4 separate regions of the Homo sapiens genome follow, and all the other regions are linked to region 2. Evidence: promoter capture Hi-C in 16 types of primary human blood cells and fetal thymus (Javierre and others, 2016). All regions are on one chromosome and are shown on one strand. Each heading gives the region's core, a stretch centred on a gene start or on the middle of the fragment in contact. The rest is flanking DNA. Distances are from core to core; before and after follow the strand shown. Region 1 holds the start of CNRIP1 (cannabinoid receptor interacting protein 1). Region 2 holds the start of GKN1 (gastrokine 1). Region 3 holds the start of LOC105374789 (a long non-coding RNA gene). Region 4 has its middle 15 kb from the start of FBXO48.

Region 1 (5,137 bases), core at 725-3,224, 650 kb before region 2:
TAACTTTTAGATTAGTTTGAACACTAGAGGAATACTCTAAAAAAAAAAAAAAGAAATATATTAACAGATAACTCCGGGGATAAGGTTGGCAGGAAAGAAGGGAAAGGAAAAGCCTGGATTATATCCAGGTGCACAGAACACTGGGAAATGTGAGAATAAAGGGTGCATGGAGCTGTGGGGGATGCTGACAAATAGATGAATCAGGAGTACCAGAAACCATCCAGATTTGGTTCTAGGTCCTTGCACCTTGGAAGGCTAATACAAGTTTACTGAATTAAAACGTAAGCTATAAGTAGTATCTGATGAATTCAAAGTCCTTCCACCCCCGCAATAATGCCCACCATATGTAGTAGATACAATAAATGCTGGTTTATTTTCTCTCTGCAGACTAGACTTTGGTAGGTAGAAACGAGAGGTAAAGGGGCTCCACCCGCAGTTCTTCCGGGTAGGCTACTGCATGCTCCCACACACTTTCCCGCCAGAGGTCTACTGGGTGCATTATCCAGCGGTCGCTGGCAAGAAATCGTCCCTGCCATGGATAAACCAAAAAACATCCTCTTGCTGTGGGGATGTTGCTAATCCCAGGCACCATCACCAGCCTGAACAGAAAACTCAGGAGAAAAAGAACAGCATACGGCATGGAAAACCGTGAAACTAGGCCAGAGAAGGGGCGGCCGCTCTCTTACTAGTGTCTGCTGCTCCACCCCAGGGTCCCAGCCACTGAATGGCGAAGGGAGTGGGGAGCATCCCTCAGGGAGCCCCAGTAATCACCCCTCCCCTGCCTTTCCACCTCATTCCTCCTTTCTCCCTCCTTCAGCCTTGCGGGCAGACCCTGTGGGCCGCCTGGACCGCGCGCAGGAGGGCTGGGATTGCGGTGGCTGAACCCTGCGGACCTCTCCCATCTGCTCCACCCCGACCGCCTGCGGTTCCGCGCCCAAGGCTGGACAGAAGGCAGGAGAAATTTATAAGAAACAGACAAGCAAAAACCCTGGCTTCTTGTCACTGATTTTAAAGAACCCACTGAGGTCACTGCGATGGGTGGAGGGAAGCGAGAATGGAGGAATACAAGCCAAAGGGAAGGAAGGGGACGAAGGCGGACAGGGAGTGACCTCTTCCTCCAACCCCCGGGCCCGCTGGGAGCGGCGCGAGGCCAGAGGCCCTTGAGAGGCTCGGGCTGTCCTGGGGGCCTCAGTCCTCTGCCTGTACCCCATGGGGGACCCTGCTGCCACCAGGCGCCCCGCACTCACTCGACCTGCAGCGTGCTGGGTTTAATCTTCACCTCAACCTTGTAGGAGGAGCCGGTGAGCAGCTTGATGGTGCGGTTCTGGCCGAAGCGCTGCCCGTCCACCTTGTAAAAGACCGGGCCGTCATTAGGCTGGATGCGCAGCGCGATGGAGAGGCGCACGAGGCCCGGCAGGTCCCCCATGTCTGGGCGAGGGTCTGGCGCGGCGGCTCCGGGGGGCGGAGGACAGCGCCGGCTGCGGCCGAGTGGCTGGAGCGCGAGGGGCGGAGAGGAAGCGCGGGGAGGGTGAGGGAGGTGGTGGAGCTGAGGCTGCCGCTAGGAACCCGCGCCGTCGCCGCCGTCCGCCCGGGCTTTTGAGGAGCAGCTCCTTAGGCTGTGGCCCCCCTCCCCACTCGGCGAGGAAGCGGGCCCAAGAGACGGCTCCAAGGCCGCGCGCTTCCCCATCCCCCGCTCCAGTGCTGCGCCCTCCACGCACCCGAAGGCTCGCTCTGGCCCGCAGGCCGCCGCGCAGATCCGCGCAGCTGGGGGCGAGGGAGTTAATCCTGTTTACGCACCACAATCCCCTTCAGCTGGGGAAGCGGACATTTAGGCTCCTCCTAGAACAGCCCCGGGCAGGAGGAGGAGAGGTTTGGGAGGCACTGGGAAGGCGCTGGAGTTAAGCGACCACTATGCCAAGGAGCGAGACCCCCGGAATCTGGATACCGCCTCGGCCAGCTACGTGAGGTGGACACTGCTGCTCGCGGATCCGGCGCCAGCCAGGCGGGAGGAGGCTGAGGGGGGGTAAAGGGAGGCGGGAAGGGGGGACAGGAAACCGCTAGCCGGTGATTTAAATTTCAGGAAATATGAGTCTTTCCAAAGCTTAGGGGAAATGGCCGAGGAAAGGCGCAATTCCACGTGATGGAGCCACGCTGGATGAGGAATGGATGCAAGAGGAAGAAAATAACCATATTCAAGGAGCTACATCTTCTTGTGGGTGTACATTTCCATTATACGTATGCTCGTCCCAAAAATGACACATACATAAATATATGTAATGAATCACATATATTTACACAGATTTTGAAGGGTGAGCTATTAACCCTGTAAAAGGCAACTGACATGAGCCTAAGGCATTCTGGTGACAAAATGGCCAAGAGGTGGGATGGGTCAAAGGATTATTGGCAGGGGGCCATATGCGACACCGCAGAGTTTAGATTTGCATATTAAGCGTGATTAGACAGTTTTCGTGGCAGAGGTCGGTAGACAGCTGACTTTTGGAAGCGAGGGGAGACTCAGGGGGTGAGGACTATACTGGGAATGGCTTCCCGGAGCAGAGAGAGCACCTGCTTCAGCACCACCCAGATGGATAGTACCAGAGCCAGGGAGCACACCTGGGAAATGAAGTGGGCTAGTGAGAACAAATGGGTAGGGATGCGTTTCCTTGGCAGTTTTTGTTTACCCAAGTTAGACTGCTCTTTTTTAAGAAATAATAAGCTATACATATAATATATATGTAATATGGGTGTTTATTGCAACATTGGTTGCAAAAATAAAAATAAAACCTAAATGAAATGTTAACCAATAAATAAATGGCTGAATAAATTCTTATATACCCACACTATAGAACGTTACACAACTATCAAAATAATGAAATATAGGTTGCATTGGCAAACACACAGGCAAAAACTGTTAATGATAAAAGTGGGATGGCTGGGAAACAAAGCCTGAGGGCGAGCATTTTGTCTGTTTTGTTTGTTGCTGTTTCCCCAGCATGCCAAAATAGTGCCTGACACATAGTAGGTGCTCCAGAAATCGTTGTTGAATTGACTTACGGTTGTGGTCTTAATCATGTCCATATGTAAATTCTTTCACATCTTTAAAATTAATTAGATCCTTGCGATTTACCTGGAATGATGAAAAGAAATCTAATTGCAAGTAGCATCTCTAGTGTTTTAGAAAAATGAAAATTTAAAAAGAATATAAATGTGTATGTTTGTATTAGCTCTTTTAAAAGAATGAGAGAGTTACACAGTAAACTTAATGTTGGTTATTATGGTTTATGAGTAGTGGAAAGAGGGTGAGTATCTTTTTGGGGTCATTTAAAAGCCTTTTTGGAAATTTTGCCTTTTTTCCTCAACCTTTTGTTTAGCAACCCCACAATCTCAAGCCAACTTCCACCTGTGTATCAAAAAGAGCATTGGACCTGGAGGATGATGACTCCATTTTAAAACCTGGTTCTAAGGCCGGCATGGTGGCTCATGCCTGGAATCCCAGCACTTTGGGAGACCAAGGAGGGCAGATCATTTGAGGCCAGGAGTTCAAGACCAGCCTCGCCAAAATGGCAAAACCTGTCTCTACTAAAAATACAAAAAATTAGCCAGGCGTGGTGGCGCATGCCTGTAGTCCCAGCTACTTGGGAGGCTGAGGCATGAGAATCGCTTGAGCTGGGGAGGCAGAGCTTATAGTGAGCCGAGATCATGCCACTGCACTCCAGTCTGGGCAACAAAGTGAGACTCCATCTGAAAAAAAAAAAAAAAACCCACACAAAAACAAAAACAAAAACTCTGGTTCTAGCCTGGCTAGGTAGTGCACTCTTGCAGTCCCCACTACTTGGGAGGCTAAGGTGGGAAGATCACTTAAGCCGACGAGTTTGAGGCCAGTATGGACAAAATAGTAAGACTGCCATCTCATAAATAAATAAAATAAAAAAAACCTAACTCTGCCACTTTTTAGTTTCGTTATGCAAATAACTTAACATCTTTATGTTTCATCTTTGTAAAATGAGGATTAAAATACCTCCTTCCCAACATTGTGAGAATTGAATGAGGAAATGGAAATTGTTTGAAAAAAATAAATTACTTTTCAAATACGAGGTGTTACTAATGCTGGGCAATATCCATTAGGAATAGCATTTTCAGGACCATACAATGTAATGTCTTAAAATGAAATTAATAAATGTAAAAGTAATTGGAAAATTTATCATCACTGATACATATGTGCAAAGAATATGAATATGGAGTCTGATGGATCTGTGTTTGTGTTGCCAGATCTGTGGATTACAAACTGAGTGACCTTGAGCAAAGCTGCTTTAGTCTCTTGGAGCCCCAGTTTCTTCATTTGTAAAATGATGATGGTGACATAGATGATGCATATAGAACCAAATGAAATTGTGTAAACTATGCAAGAATATCAGGCCCATAGAGACACTCAATACATTGTAACTATTTTTATTTAAAAATATACTTGCTGAATATGTAGCAACTTTTAGTTTAGATTCAGGTTTGTTACTGGAGCGTATTGCATGATGCTGAGGTTTGGAGTAGAAATGATCCCATCATCCAAGTCCTCAGTGTCTATTGTTACCAATGGAATGAAGACTACTAGCCAGGGAGGGAGGGAGACAAGTAAGGGTTGAAAAACTGTTTTATGTCCATGGGTACCCAATGGTTAGCACCCACTAAAAATGAGAACATGCGGTATTTGGCTTTTTTTTCCTGCATTAATTCATTTCTTGCTATATATTTTTAAGGTATCTAGTGCTTTCAGTCTTATTGTAGATTCTTTAATTATTACCTCAGATTGGTGATCTTAAACATTGTCTGTCTAATGGACAATGCTTATTATCATTCTTTTGAAAACTGTGAAATTGAGCCCAAGTGAACGATGGACTTAGTTGTCATTCAGAGGAATCACATGCTATGGTTCAAACGATTCTCCTGCCTCAGCCTCCCAGCTGCTTGTGTTCCCCCAAAATGGCTATGTTGAAACCGAATCCACAAAGCAATAGTATTAAGAAGTGGGTTCTTTTGGAGGTGATTAGGTCATAAGGGCTCTTCTGCCCACGTGAATGGGATTAGTAGTACCCTTGTAAAAGGGGCTTGAGGGAGGTCGTTTGCCCCCTTCTACCATGTATGG
Region 2 (4,547 bases), core at 913-3,412:
TCCTCAGAGGTGGCACAATTTTTTCACTAAGGCAGGGGTCCCCAGAGTTGTTATGAGATGTTAGGACAAATAAATAAAAGAAAAAGGGAAAACGATCAGGTTCTGTAGTCAACTAAGATGAGAAGAACCTGGATGAAACAGAGATTTTTCCCCTATAAATTTCTTAGCCCATTTGATGTGTGAATGTGAATTGTCAGTCTCTAAAGGGGGGATTATTGGACCCGGAACTCTACCTATGTATCTATGTATGTGTGTGTATCTATGTGTGTATACGTGTGTATGTATGTATGTATGTATGTATGTATGTATCTATCTATCTATCTATCTATCTATCTATCTATCTATCTGTCTGTCTGTCTGTCATGGAACATCTTCCAGACCAGCATTTCACAGGTCCACTGCAGAACTTCAGGCCCTTGTCCTTGGTATGACATGCAAAATGTGTGCTGGGCACTGCACCTGTGTACCAAGATGACTACTGGTGGCTGAGTTTAAACGTAGAGACCATGCTACCCACTCATTGACTTCTCAGTGACATGAAGTTTCCTAAAGCAGATGAAGGCCTCTTCACACATGTCTGCCCCTTACTCCAGGCTTATTACCTTCTGTGGATAAAGAGTGAGTTTGAAAGAAATCAGTGGACACATTAAAAAATATCCAGTAATACTGCAGCTGTTCTAATCCACTCCTACCAACAGTTTTGAAGAGATGTTGATAGCGAATCAAGCTTTATAACCATGTGATCCCATCTTATGGTTTCAATCCATGCACAGGAGGAAAATTGTGGGCACGAAGTTTCCAAAGGGAAAATTTATAGATTGGTAGTTAATGAAATACAGTTTTCCTCCTTGGCAAATTTAATTTACTAGCTTCACTGTATAGGAAAAAGCAGGAAAAAAATTAAAACCAACTCACCTCCAAACCTGTTTTGAGCTTTTACTTGTCTGCCCAATTGATAGTTTCTACTCTCTGCTTTTGATGAAAATATTTTTTATTATTTTAATGTAACTTCTGAAAACTAAATTATCTAGAAGCAAATAAAAAGATATTGCTTTTATAGTTCCCAGAAGGAAAAAACAAACACTAGGAAAGTTCTATCTATCAGATGGGGGAGATGTGATGGAGGCAGTGATATTTGAGCTGAGCCTTGAACAATGAACAGGAGTCTACCAAGCGAGAGGCTAGCGGGTGGCCCTCCAAGATAAAACAACAGCATGTACAAAGGCATGGAGACATACACATCTTGACTTTTCCAGGAATGGTGGGAACGCTGGTGGAGCTAGAATGTAGGTACATAGCATAAAGTGGCAGACGGGAAGCCTTTGGAAATCTTATTACATAGGACCCTGGATGCCATTCCAATGACTTTGAATTTTCTGTAGGCTGCCAGCGAAATTTCCAAGCGTGATAGAGTCATGTCTATCTATGCACTTCAGAAAGACAACCTCAGGGTTAATGAAGAAAATGCATTGGAATATAAGAAACTGGTGACCAGAGTGATCAATTGCATGACTGTTGTGAAAGTCCAGGTGAGGGGAGCTGTGGGCAAGGTCAGAGTTGAGAGGCATTTCAGAGATAAAATGACAGTAACTAAGTAGATGTCAGACTGAGAAGAAAGGGCTGTACCAGATATATGGTGCTATCATTAAGTGAGCTCAACATTGCAGAAAAGGGGTAGGTTTGGTGGGAGTTGCTCACAAAACATGTTTAGTCTAAGCAAAACCATTGCCATGGGCTCAGATAAAAGTTAAGAAGTGGAAACCATTCCTACATTCCTATAGGAGCTGCTATCTGGAAGGCCTAGTATACACGTGGCTTTTCAGCTGTGATTTTGTTTGATTTTAGGGATTATTCTTTTTCTGAATCTGAGCAATGTTAGCGTGTAAAATACTCACGCCCACAGCTTTGACTGGGTGAGAAGTTATCATAAATCATATTGAGTTTGTTGTGATACCTTCAGCTTCAACAAGTGATGAGTCAGGTCAACTCCATGTGAAAGTTCCTTGCTAAGCATGCAGATATTCTGAAAGGTTTCCTGGTACACTGGCTCATGGCACAGATAGGAGAAATTGAGGAAGGTAAGTCTTTGACCCCACCTGATAACACCTAGTTTGAGTCAACCTGGTTAAGTACAAATATGAGAAGGCTTCTCATTCAGGTCCATGCTTGCCTACTCCTCTGTCCACTGCTTTCGTGAAGACAAGATGAAGTTCACAGTGAGTAGATTTTTCCTTTTGAATTTACCACCAAATGATTGGAGACTGTCAATATTCTGAGATTTAGGAGGTCTGCTTCTTATGGCCCCATCATGGAAAATTTGTTTTAAAAAAATTCTCTCTTCAAACACATGGACACAGAGAGGGGAACAACACACACTAGGTCCTGTTGGGGGGTGGAGAGTGAGGGGAGGGAACTTAGAGGACAGGTCAATAGGGGCAGCAAACCACCATGGCACACATATACCTATGTAACAAACCTGCACGTTCTGCACATGTATCCCTTTTTTTTAGAAGAAGAAATAATGAAAAAAAATCTTTTTTCTATTTATATAATCATGGCATTTATAAGCATCTCTATAGAGAAGGATAATTGTGCTGAGATTAGACAGCTGTCTGAGCACCTCACACTGACCTATTTTTAACAAAATGACTTTCCGCATCACCTGATTCCGGTCTCCATGCAGGGTAAGCAGTTCCTAAGCCCTAGAAAGTGCCGATCATCCCTCATTCTTGAATTCCTCCTTTTATTTACCAAAATTCCTGAGCATGTTCAGGAAAGATGAAAAGCTTATTATCAAAATAAGTGGCTGAGATAGACTTCTTGTCACATTTGTTACAGTAAAATGGGTCTCCAAGAAAGAAAGATTTGCCTTGGGCTCTAGCATGGCCATTTATTTAAGAAAGCATCTGAAACATGAAGCTACCACAGCATCTCTCCTGTGGTTCCAGACAGAAGCCTGAGAGTCTAGGAGGAGGTGGACCGAGAAACCCTGCCAAAGTAACTAGTAGTGCCGGGTTTCTCACAACACGATGCAAAGGGGCTAGAATCAGATGACTATTTTCATGTTTCAACATACTACACACTGGAAAACGTTACGGCAGACTCTACTTTATAATGGGGCTGCAAATGTAAAATGACTACCTAGAACTAGGTCCTCTTAATAGCAGCAAAGTTTAAAAGGGTCAGAGGGAGCTCCAGACACAGGTTAGATTTGATTTCTCTCCTAGTTCTGCTGTGAACAAGAGGTATAAGTTTGGCCAACTCACTTAACCCCTGAAGCTCAGTTACCTTATCTGTAAAATGATTGCATTGTACTAGGTGTTCTCTAAAATTTCTTCTACCTCTGACTTTTTAGGAGACTAATTTTTAACTCCTTTTTAAGCTATTGGGAGAAAAATTTAATTTTTTTTCAAAAGTTACCTTGAATCTCTAGAGCAGTTCTCAAAACTATTTTGTCCCAGGCAAAGGAAATGAGACTAGGTACCCAGAATGAGGCACCCTGCATAAAGCTCTGTGCTCTGAAAACCAATGTCAGGGACCCTGTGATAAATAATTAAACCAAGTATCCTGGGACACTGCTAGTGACATCGCCTCTGCTGATCACTCTTGCCAGCGAGACACTCTATACTTGCTTTCTCATCATTGGCATCCAAACTGCCTACTAATCCATTGCTTTGGAAAGTTTTTTTTAATAAAAAGATTATTTCTATTAGGAAGAAAACATCCCATGTTAAATAGGAAAATTAACTGAAATCATTTTCAGATGTGATTTTTAGCACTTATAGCCATCTCAAACCATAGTATTCATTTATACTATGCTATTTATTGTAAAACTTCTTTTTTTTTCCAAGGAAAATAAGATAGTTTGCTTTATTTTAAAACAGTAACTTTCTTATATTGGGGCACTGACCAAAATTCAATACTGGTACAAATATGTTACCTAGGAGGTCAAAATATGTGCCAGGTGAATTTTCTGAATTTCTCTAAAGAGAGAATTTTAAACCTTATAAAACAATTAGAAACAAGTGAGTGAGAGGTGAGCATCAACAACCTGTGTAACATAAGCCACAGTACAAATTTAAGCTGAATAACCAAGCCATGTCAGTTATCCCAAATCATTTTTGTTAATATTTAGGAGGATACACATATTTTCAATAACTTAAAAGTGAATCTTTACTCCTATCTCTTAATACTCGAAGAAGTATAACTTTCTTCTTTTACTAGATTTAAATAATCCAAATATCTACTCAAGGTAGGATGCTGTCATTAACTATAGCTGAGTTTATCCAAAATAGAAAAATCATGAAGATTTATAAAGCATTTTAAAAATAATCATTTATAGCAAGTCCTTGAAAGCTCTAAATAAGAAAGGCAGTTCTCTACTTTCTAATAACACCTATGGTTTATATTACATAATATAATTCAACAAAACAGCATTCTGACCAATGATAATTTATAGGAAATTCATTTGCCAAGTATATGTTTTATTATAAAGTTAATATTTTGACCAATCTTAAAAATTTTTAAACTCTATTCTGACATTTCCA
Region 3 (4,901 bases), core at 726-3,225, 870 kb before region 2:
CTCTATTTTTTTAATTACAAAAATTTTATATATATATAATTTATATATATATACTTATATATATATATCTACTTACCACTCAATGCTATGTATACATATATATATAGAGAGAGAGAGAGAGAGATGTTATAATTTTTCATTTCTTCATTTTATTTCAAATGAGAAAATGAATGCCATTTCTGATTTTCCAGGTCACTTTATAGTCTCTTCCATGCACATTTTCTAAGTAAATTTTTTTTATCTTTGAATTTTCTTTAAAATGCTACGTGTCTAATAATTACAATGTCTAGAATCTGTGGGGTGTGGGTCTATATCTGTTTTTAGTTTCAGCTGACATTCAATATGTATTCATTTCCTAGTGAGTTCTATAACAAATTACGACCAAATTGGTGACTTAAGACAACACAAACTCTTTCTCATACAGTTTGGGGTCAGAAGTCCAAAAGCGCTAAGCTAAAGTCAAGGCTGATTCTTCTGGAGGCTGTAGGAATGATGTTCCCTTGCCTTTTCTAGCTTCTAGGGGCTTCCATCATTCCATGGCCAATGACCCCTTCCTTGCATCATTCCATACTCCAACCTGTTGCATCTTCTACTTTATTTATTTATTTATTTATTTATTTATTTATTTATTTATTTTTGTAAAATGAGATGAGGTCTTGCTATGTTGCCTAGGCTGGTCTTGAACTCCTGAGCTCATGCGATCCTCCCACCTCAGCCTCCCAAAGTGCTGGGACTACATGCATGAGCCACCCTGCTTAGCCAACATCCTCTACTTCTGTAGTCACACTTTCCTCTGCCTCCCTCTTATAAGAACACTTGTGATTACATCTAGGACCCATTTGGATAATACAGAATAATCTCTTCATTCAAGATCCTTAACTTAATCACACCTGCAAAGTCCTTTTTGCCATGTAAGGTGATACTAACTAACAGTGCAGTGTGACAGGCTGCCCTACCAGGTTACTTAAAAGTATATGCCCGCTGCCTGAACCCTGAAGGCCAGATAGTAAGTCACGGCCATGGTACCCAGCTGAGGAGCAGGTGTCCCTGAGAGCCTAAACATCCCAGGGAGTATGTGAGAACCTACCAAAGAAAACAGTACCATCACACAAACACAGTAGGCAAAGAGCCCGAAAATTAGCTTAACAGCAGCTTAGAGAAGGGAGGTGGCACAGATCTCTTGAGCTGTGCTGCTGCCACTCAGGAGTGCCCTGCCCTGTATGTCTCAATAAACTCATCTACTTGCCAAACACAACTTCCCTAAATCATTCTTTGGTCTTTCGGCACCTTCCCAACTTGGGAGGGATAGGGGATGTTACAGTCTCAAATTTTTCTCATAACACACGGATCCAGGGCTTAGGACTGAGATATTCAGGGGTGCCATTTTCTAGCTCATTACACACTTACTGTGTCAGAGACTCAGTTGACAACAAGCATCCATTCCCCAACTCCCTTGCTAGTAAGGAAAATACTAATTTTTAGTCAAGCTTATTGTTGGCCAGTTAAAACTCCCTAGTTTTTGTTCACATCAAGATGTGATCATTGTGGTTAAATTTTTGACAATAAATTTTAAGTGGCAGTACTGTGTGCAAACTTCAGAATGTTTTGGTTTTGTTTTTTTTTAAATAGGCCTGCCCTTCATCCCTTTCCTTCCACAATTGGCCTGGAATGTGAGCATCTGGAGCTCTAGCTGCCATCTTGGGTCACAAGAACAAGGAGCATAACGTAGATCTGAGATGATTCATAAACTGTAAAGAAACAGGTCCCTGATGAATTTCTGATGAATCTGTCCTGGACACCTATCTCATGACGTCTTTTAGATGAAAACAAATAAAACTGTGTGTGTCTAAGCCACCATTATTTGTTTGTTCTGCTGTGTGAGGCTAAACTTAGTCCTAACTCATATCATCATTATGTCTTTTGTTTCTTTGTATATTTGGGGATTTTTTCATCATAATTATCCATTTGGTTTCACATAGTCTATAGGAATCCTGAAATCCTGAATTAATGACACCTTCCTCAAAAGGGATTTGAATTTATATATTTCTGGAATTACGTATGCTAACAACAAGGGACAGCTTTAGCCTCCTTAATTAGGACACAGGGCCTGGCAGCAGCCTCAGAGCTTAGCTTTCAATCCCTCATTTGTGACTGACACTGGCATTTCTCCTCCAAGTTTTGCAGTTTGCTTACCACTCAATGCTAGCTTTAGCTTACTATGCATGTTTGCATGTTGTTTTATTTTGTTTTGTTGACATTGGAAAGTTCCCTTTGTTTCTTGTAAGAGCTCAACGTATTTAAAAAAAGTTATAATCTGATTATATTGCCATTGTAGTGGAATATTACTTCAGAGTCCTGTTCACCATTCACCCAGAAGCGGCACTGACGCCCTTCCCATGCCAGTTTCACCATTAGATGTGCTACGAAGGCTTTATGTCAGATTGACCCATCCAATACTTTGATGCAAGCTTGGTACAAGCAGAGCTCTTCTGAAAATAATATTGTTACCACTTTCTATGTGGTAACAATTCACTCATGTATTTGTACTGGGGATTCGGTTTGCACTCATTACTATTATTTTCTTTTAGAGTTTCTGGGACCTCTTTCAAATTACACGAGTTCATTCCTCTGCCTGCAAAGATTCGGACCCATCCCCAGGGATGTGTATAATACAATTCTACTAAGGGAAATACACTATTACTCTGCAACTTGCTTTTTTAATTAATAATATGTCATTTTGCCTTTCAGTACTTATAGTCACCTCATTCTTCCTTCATAGCCGAATAGTATTCTGTGGTACATACCACAATTTATTAAACAATTTTACCATTGATAGACCTTTAGGTTGCTTCCAATATTTTGATATTATTAATACTGCTGTGCTATAATAAGCATATATATACTTGTATATGTGCACATATTTCTGAGTAAATTTATACTTATTGGTTCAAGGGGTATGAATATTTAACATTTTGATGGATGTTGCCAATTTGTCTCCACCAAAAGCCATGCTAATGTAATGTGTTTGTGACAGAGACTACTAATGCCAACTTAATATTAATTTTCCCAAATTCTATACTGAAAGAATCCCTATTTTATTTCAGAGCGGTGGTATGCCTAGCCAAAGGCAACATTTCACAGTCTCACTCTGAGCTAAGTGTAGTCACATGACTAACTTCTGTCCGCTGAACTATGAATGAAAGTGTCGTGTGGGGTGTGCTGCAGTGCCACTTACTGGAAGATGTGCCACTTTCCACCCTTCTATCTTTATTCCTTCTTCAAACCTTCTCAGTGGTTTGATGGCAAGGTCCTTGCAGTCATCATGAACCATGAAATCATCTTGAGGATAGGGGTAGTGGAGAAAAAAGAATGGAGCCTGAATCATGGAGAGACACTATGCAACTTTAGACTACCTACAGCTTGACTTTCATTATATGGGAGAATTAACCCATTATTTTCCAGGTCTTTGCTACATGCAGGTAAATACTATTTCTAAATAACACAGCACCCCTTTCAATCATATAAACAATACACCAGTCCCATTGAGTACTTGCTGTGGTCCCCATCATGTGCTGTAGACTGTCACCGCAGAGCCCTTGCTCACTACCACAGTGGCTGTTCTTTCTGCATGGGTCAGTGCAACCAGGTAGGTGGGCTTGTACATTGACTCCTCATCCTTTCTTTCCCAATTGGTGACCTCAGTTCACAGGACTAGTAGAACAAACTTTAAATTTTCATTTTTGGCTCAGATCATCTAGGGAAATTAGTCTACACAAATACACACACACACACATACGCACATCCAGTACATACAGAAAACCAAATGGCTTTTCAGAATCCACAAATCTTCCCATACTTGAAGCAATCCTTACTTCAGTCTGAAGAGTTTTCCAAAATAACCCCTCAGCCCCTTTTAAGAGAAGACCTATCTAATGAAAAATATAAACGTTCTATGGAATAAAACATTGCAGACTTAATAATTCAAAACTGCTACTAAATCAATGTACTGCTTGTTGGTTTGTCAATATAGCTTTTTCAATTAGACAATTTTATTACAGTGATGAATACCAATGGCACAATTAAGAGACTGCCGTTCTAAATTATGGTCTGTTTAGCCTAACAATCCATATTTGCTACTGAATAAATGTGATGACTATAGCCTCCTAAAGATGAATGGGCCTCTATTGGCAGCTGCACCTGTCCCTGGTGAGGACTGGGCAGGAATGACTCTCATCATATTCCTTCATGGGATCCTTCTGGCTGACCACTGTAATGGCATGTTGCCTCCCTTCACAGTGCCCTCTCCTACACCAGGAACACCTACCCTGCTGGTGATGGGTGTTGTAGATAGTGCCTGACAAGTAAGTTCCGAGTTCCACACCAAATCCCGCTTTTCCTGGTAAATGAAAACAGCACATGAGGTGAGGCACATTGGCTCTTTTTCCCAGCACTTAGGGAGGTCAAGGCAGGAGGATCGCTTGAGGCCAGGAGTAACAGAGCCTGGGCCGGGCGTGGTGGCTCACGTCTGTAATCCCAGCACTTTGGGAGGCCGAGGCGGGTGGATCATCTGAGGTCAGGGGTTCAAGACTAGCCTGGCTAACGTGGCAAAACCCCGTCTCTACTAAAAATACATAAATTAGCCAGGTGTGGTGATGCGTGTCTGTAGTCCCAGCTACTTGGGAGGCTGAGGCAGGAGAATCACTTGAACCTGGGAGGTGGAGGTTGCAGTGAACCAAGATGGCACCATTGTACTCCTGGTACAGCCTGAGTGACAGAGTGAGGCTCTGTCTCAAAAAGAAAAAACAAAACAAAACAAAACAAACAAAACAGAGCCTGGTTTCCTTTTCAGCAGAATGAGGATAATAATCTCTACTTTCTAGAGTTGTAATAATTATAAGTGT
Region 4 (4,744 bases), core at 1,944-4,443, 520 kb before region 2:
ATATAATTTATATGATTTTTATATATAATTTATATATAATTTATATAATTTTTATATATAATTTATATATAATTTATATAATTTTTATATATAATTTATATAATATATATATATAATTTATATATAATTTATATAATTTATATATATAATTTATATATAATTTATATAATTTATATATATAATTTATATATAATTTATATAATTTATATATATAATTTATATATAATTTATATAATTTATATATATAATTTATACATAATTTATATAATTTATATATATAATTTATATAATTTATATATATAATTTATATATATAATTTATATAATTTATATATATGATTTATATAATTTATATATATAATTTATATAATTTATATATATAAATTATATATATAATTTTTATATAATTTATATATTTATAATTTATATATTTATATAATTTATATATTTATAATTTATATATTTATATAATTTATATATTTATAATTTATATATTTATATAATTTATATATAATTATTCATATATTTATATAATTTACATATAATTATTTATATATTCATATATAATTTATATATTTATATATAATTTATATATAATTATTTACATATTTATATATTTATATATAATTTATATATATTTATATATAATTTATAAATAAAATATATAATATATAATATATAATATTATAATAGATAAAATATATACTATATATTATATATTTTACATTATATTTAATATTATATGTATAATTTTATATCATATATAATATATATGATATATATAATTTTATATCATATATAATATATATGGTATATATAATTTTATATCATATATAATATATATGGTATATATAATTTTATATCATATATAATATATGATATATAATTTTATATCATATAATATATATTATATATAATTTTATATCTACATATTATATATTATATATACAATTTTATATCTATCTATAATATATATTATATATACAATTTTATATCTATATAATATATATTATATATACTTTTATATTATATATAAAATGTATATTATATATACTTTTATATTATATATAAAATGTATATTATATATAATTTTATTTTATATATAAAATGTATATTATATATAATTTTATTTTATATATAAAATGTATATTATATATAATTTTATTTTATATATAAAATGTATATTATATATAATTTTATTTTATATATAAAATGTATATTATATATAATTTTATTTTATATAAAAAATGTATATTATATATAATTTTATATTATATATAATATGTATATTATATATAATTTTATATTATATATAATATGTATATTATATATAATTTTATATTATATATAATATGTATATTATATATAATTTTATATTATATATAATATGTATATTATATATAATTTTGTATTATATATAATATGTATATTATATATAATTTTATATTATATATAATATGTATATTATATATAATTTTATATTATATATAATATGTATATTATATATAATTTTATATTATATATAATATGTATATTATATATAATTTTATATTATATATAATATGTATATTATATATAATTTTATATTATATATAAAATGTATATTATATATAATTTTATATTATATATAATATGTATATTATATATAATTTTATATTATATATAATATGTATATTATATATAATTTTATATTATATATAAAATGTATATTATATATAATTTTATATTATATATAAAATGTATATTATATATATTATATATAAAATGTATATTATATATATTATATATAAAATGTATATTATATATATTATATATAAAATGTATATTATATATATTATATATAAAATGTATATTATGTATATTATATATAATGTATATTATGTATATTATATATAATGTATATTATATATAATATATATTATATATAATGTATATTATATAATATATATTATATATTATAATATATAATATACATTATATATTACATATTATATATAATATATTATATATTATATATTACATATTATATATAATATATTATATATTATATTAAATATATATTTTATATATTATATATTATATATTATATAAAATATATATATTATATATTATATAAAATATATATATATTATATTATATATTATATTAAATATATATTTTATATATAATATATATAATATATAATATATAAAATATATATTATATATTATATATAAATTATATATATTATATATAAAATATATAATATATATTATATATAAATATACATATTATAGATATCTATTCTTTATCCACTCTTCTTGGTTGATGGACATTTAGGTGTTTTTTTAAAATGTAGTATAAACCAGTAGTTCCTAACAAGAGGGATTTTCCCCCAGGAGACATTTGGCAATGTCTGGCGACATTTTTGGTTGCCAGCACTTGGGAAGTGGTGCTACTGGCATCTAATGAATAGAGGCCAGCGGTGCTGCTAAACATTCTACAGTGTATACGACAGCACCCCTGCCCCTCCCCCAAACAAAGAATTATCCAGCCCAGAATGTTAATAGTGATAAAGTTTAGGGACCTGGTATAGACAGAGATAAAGCACACATGGTTAAAGTTAACAATTGGTTAATCTAGGTGATGATGCCATATTCTAGACTTTGAAATTTTTTGTAAGAGTGAAAACTTTCAAAATAAAACATTTAGGGAGAAAGCACGTTTAAAAATATATAATAAAAGTCTGAGAGAGAAAAAAAAAAGTTGAACTGATGAAAAAAGTAGGCCATACACAGGAAAACAATGGCAAAAGCAGTCCTTTTTATTTTCTTCACTAACCAATGAGAATAAAGACAGGAAATTGTGCTCAATCTACTTGTTAGGCAACAAAAAAACACAACCACAGCAATAAGTGGGGGAGATTCTCACGTGTGATTTTTAGAAAGCTTCTTTTATGGTTTTACATATTTTCTATCAGGATTTCATTGTGTGACAAATGGACTGTATAATTTTGTCATATTAAAAGTAAATCAAAATGAGCAAACTGGGAAACCAGCAGCTGGGTTTTTTTCCCCTACAAGGCACAGAAGACCCATAGCAGAAAAGTAGGCCTCAGAAAATGATTATTAAAAATTTCTTTTGGGCCAGAACAGTGGTTCATGCTTGTAATTCCAGCACTTTGGGAGGTTGAGGGGAGAGGATTGCTTGAGCTCAGGAGTTCGAGGCCAGCCTGGGCAACATAGTGAGACCCAGTCTCTAAAAATAAATAACTAAATTAATTAATTAAGAAAAATTTTTTCTTGAGCAGTTAATGTTTATGATAATACAGTATGATTGGTGTGGTACTTGTAAAACTGCAGTTTTATCTTTTTTTATTTCCATCCGGCCCTGACTGGGTAAGGACAAGGAGGTATTGGAAAATGCAAACAGGTTCATGAAAAAAGTCAGTTTTACTTGTGGTAGAACTCAATATAAGGATGTCAAGCTTTTATTAGAAACCCAACCCGCATGCCTTGTTTATTACCTTCTTCTGTCTCAGCTGTTCTTTATAGTTTTTACTCTTTCTTCCTTTTCCAGCATTATTTTATTGTGTAGAGTAATACTAGAATGGGTTGTTTTTTTTTTGTAATACATTCCGCTGTATTTTCCATGCCCAGTAATTCTTATTTCTCTGCAGCTCTCTGCCTGGAAAGACAGGCATCCAGTGCTTTGTGGGTCTGGTAGGTACAGCCGAGAATAAAGAAGTCAGAACTCAGCTTTGAATTTCAAAAGACTTTTTTCAAGCATAGAAGACTCAGAAGTCTTAACTGCTAGGCTTTCAACTGAGAAACGAAAATAAAATCCAAAGGTCCCCCCTGCAACTGACTAAAAGGACTCCCCTCTTGGCTAAGGAGATCCTAGAGAAATCTTAAAAGCTGAATTCCCAGCCATGATGGATTGGGAGGTCAGACATGCCCTGTTATACTCCCTCCCTTGCTACTTGCCATTATACTTCCACTCCTAAGTGTTAAACAGAAACAGGCCCTTTCTGAAGACTTGCTGGACTCTTCTTCCTTTTTGCAGTTTGACACAACAACTGACCATCATTCCTTCCTGATAAGAGGCCACTAACCATGGACTGGTTCTGGCCGGTTTACAGAAGCTGCACACAGGATGCTTCTGTGTCCTCTGTTTCAGCTTTTGACGTATAGAGCCTAATTTTAATACATTTAAATGTTAAGTTTCCATCCTAAAGTGAACATAGGATGTAGGTAACATACATGTTAGCTTGCTGTGCATGAGTGCACTCCCCTTTTGTGAATATTCATAGCTCCTCCTATAGCCTGTTAAATGTATATACTTAGCTGACCCTTTCAGCCTAAATTCCTGTCTTACCCTTCCCTCCCTAGAAGTACCTGCTTCTGGTTTCTGCCAGAAGCTACCCTTCCCAGGCTGTGGGATGGCCAGCCTGCAGGCTGCAACCCTTTATAAGAAATAAAGCTCTCCTTTCCACATTCATGAACCTCGTGATTCTTCAGTTGGCACAACAAAATGATAGAGGCACTTGAGGAAGAAAAAGGTCTTTTTAATTCCAAATTATTCCCTTTAGAGAATCTAGAACAGTGTTTATTAAATGAACTACCAGATATAGGAAGGAAGAAAAAGATAGGATATGAATGAAGTGCAGTACAGCATTCCCACCCCAAAAGGGATTGAGAAGTTTGCCAGTTGGCGTGAAGAAGAGAATCCAAGAAGAGTAAAGGAGGGTTACATGAGGCATTTCC

Evidence for each region. Contacts are between HindIII fragments. The CHiCAGO score rates a contact against its expected background, and 5 or more counts as called.
Region 1: a contact is called between the fragment with the promoter of CNRIP1 here and the fragment with the promoter of GKN1 in region 2, in 3 of 17 cell types (naive CD8 T cells, activated CD4 T cells and naive CD4 T cells). The highest score is 6.8, in naive CD8 T cells.
Region 3: a contact is called between a fragment that was not itself captured here and the fragment with the promoter of GKN1 in region 2, in 1 of 17 cell types (activated CD4 T cells). The highest score is 7.1, in activated CD4 T cells.
Region 4: a fragment that was not itself captured here is called in contact with the fragment with the promoter of GKN1 in region 2 in 4 of 17 cell types (activated CD4 T cells, naive CD4 T cells, non-activated CD4 T cells and 1 more); the score reaches 9.2 in activated CD4 T cells.

The regions. Positions count from the first base shown.
Region 1 is chr2:68,317,975-68,323,111 of GRCh38, forward strand. CNRIP1 (cannabinoid receptor interacting protein 1) reads right to left here and starts at 1,975. Exons shown (of 3, transcript NM_015463.3): 1 at 1,248-1,975. The coding sequence starts at 1,426. The HindIII fragment of the contact is 3,613 bases long and covers 1-2,099 here.
Region 2 is chr2:68,972,474-68,977,020 of GRCh38, forward strand. GKN1 (gastrokine 1) reads left to right here and starts at 2,163. Exons shown (of 6, transcript NM_019617.4): 1 at 2,163-2,216. The coding sequence starts at 2,205. The HindIII fragment of the contact is 2,059 bases long and covers 726-2,784 here.
Region 3 is chr2:68,107,092-68,111,992 of GRCh38, forward strand. It overlaps LOC105374789 (a long non-coding RNA gene), which reads right to left and starts at 4,509. Exons shown (of 3, transcript XR_940223.3): 1 at 3,236-4,509. The HindIII fragment of the contact is 981 bases long and covers 1,486-2,466 here.
Region 4 is chr2:68,449,878-68,454,621 of GRCh38, forward strand. No RefSeq gene overlaps it. Among named protein-coding and RNA genes, the nearest start is that of FBXO48, 15 kb to the right of the region's middle. The HindIII fragment of the contact is 539 bases long and covers 2,925-3,463 here.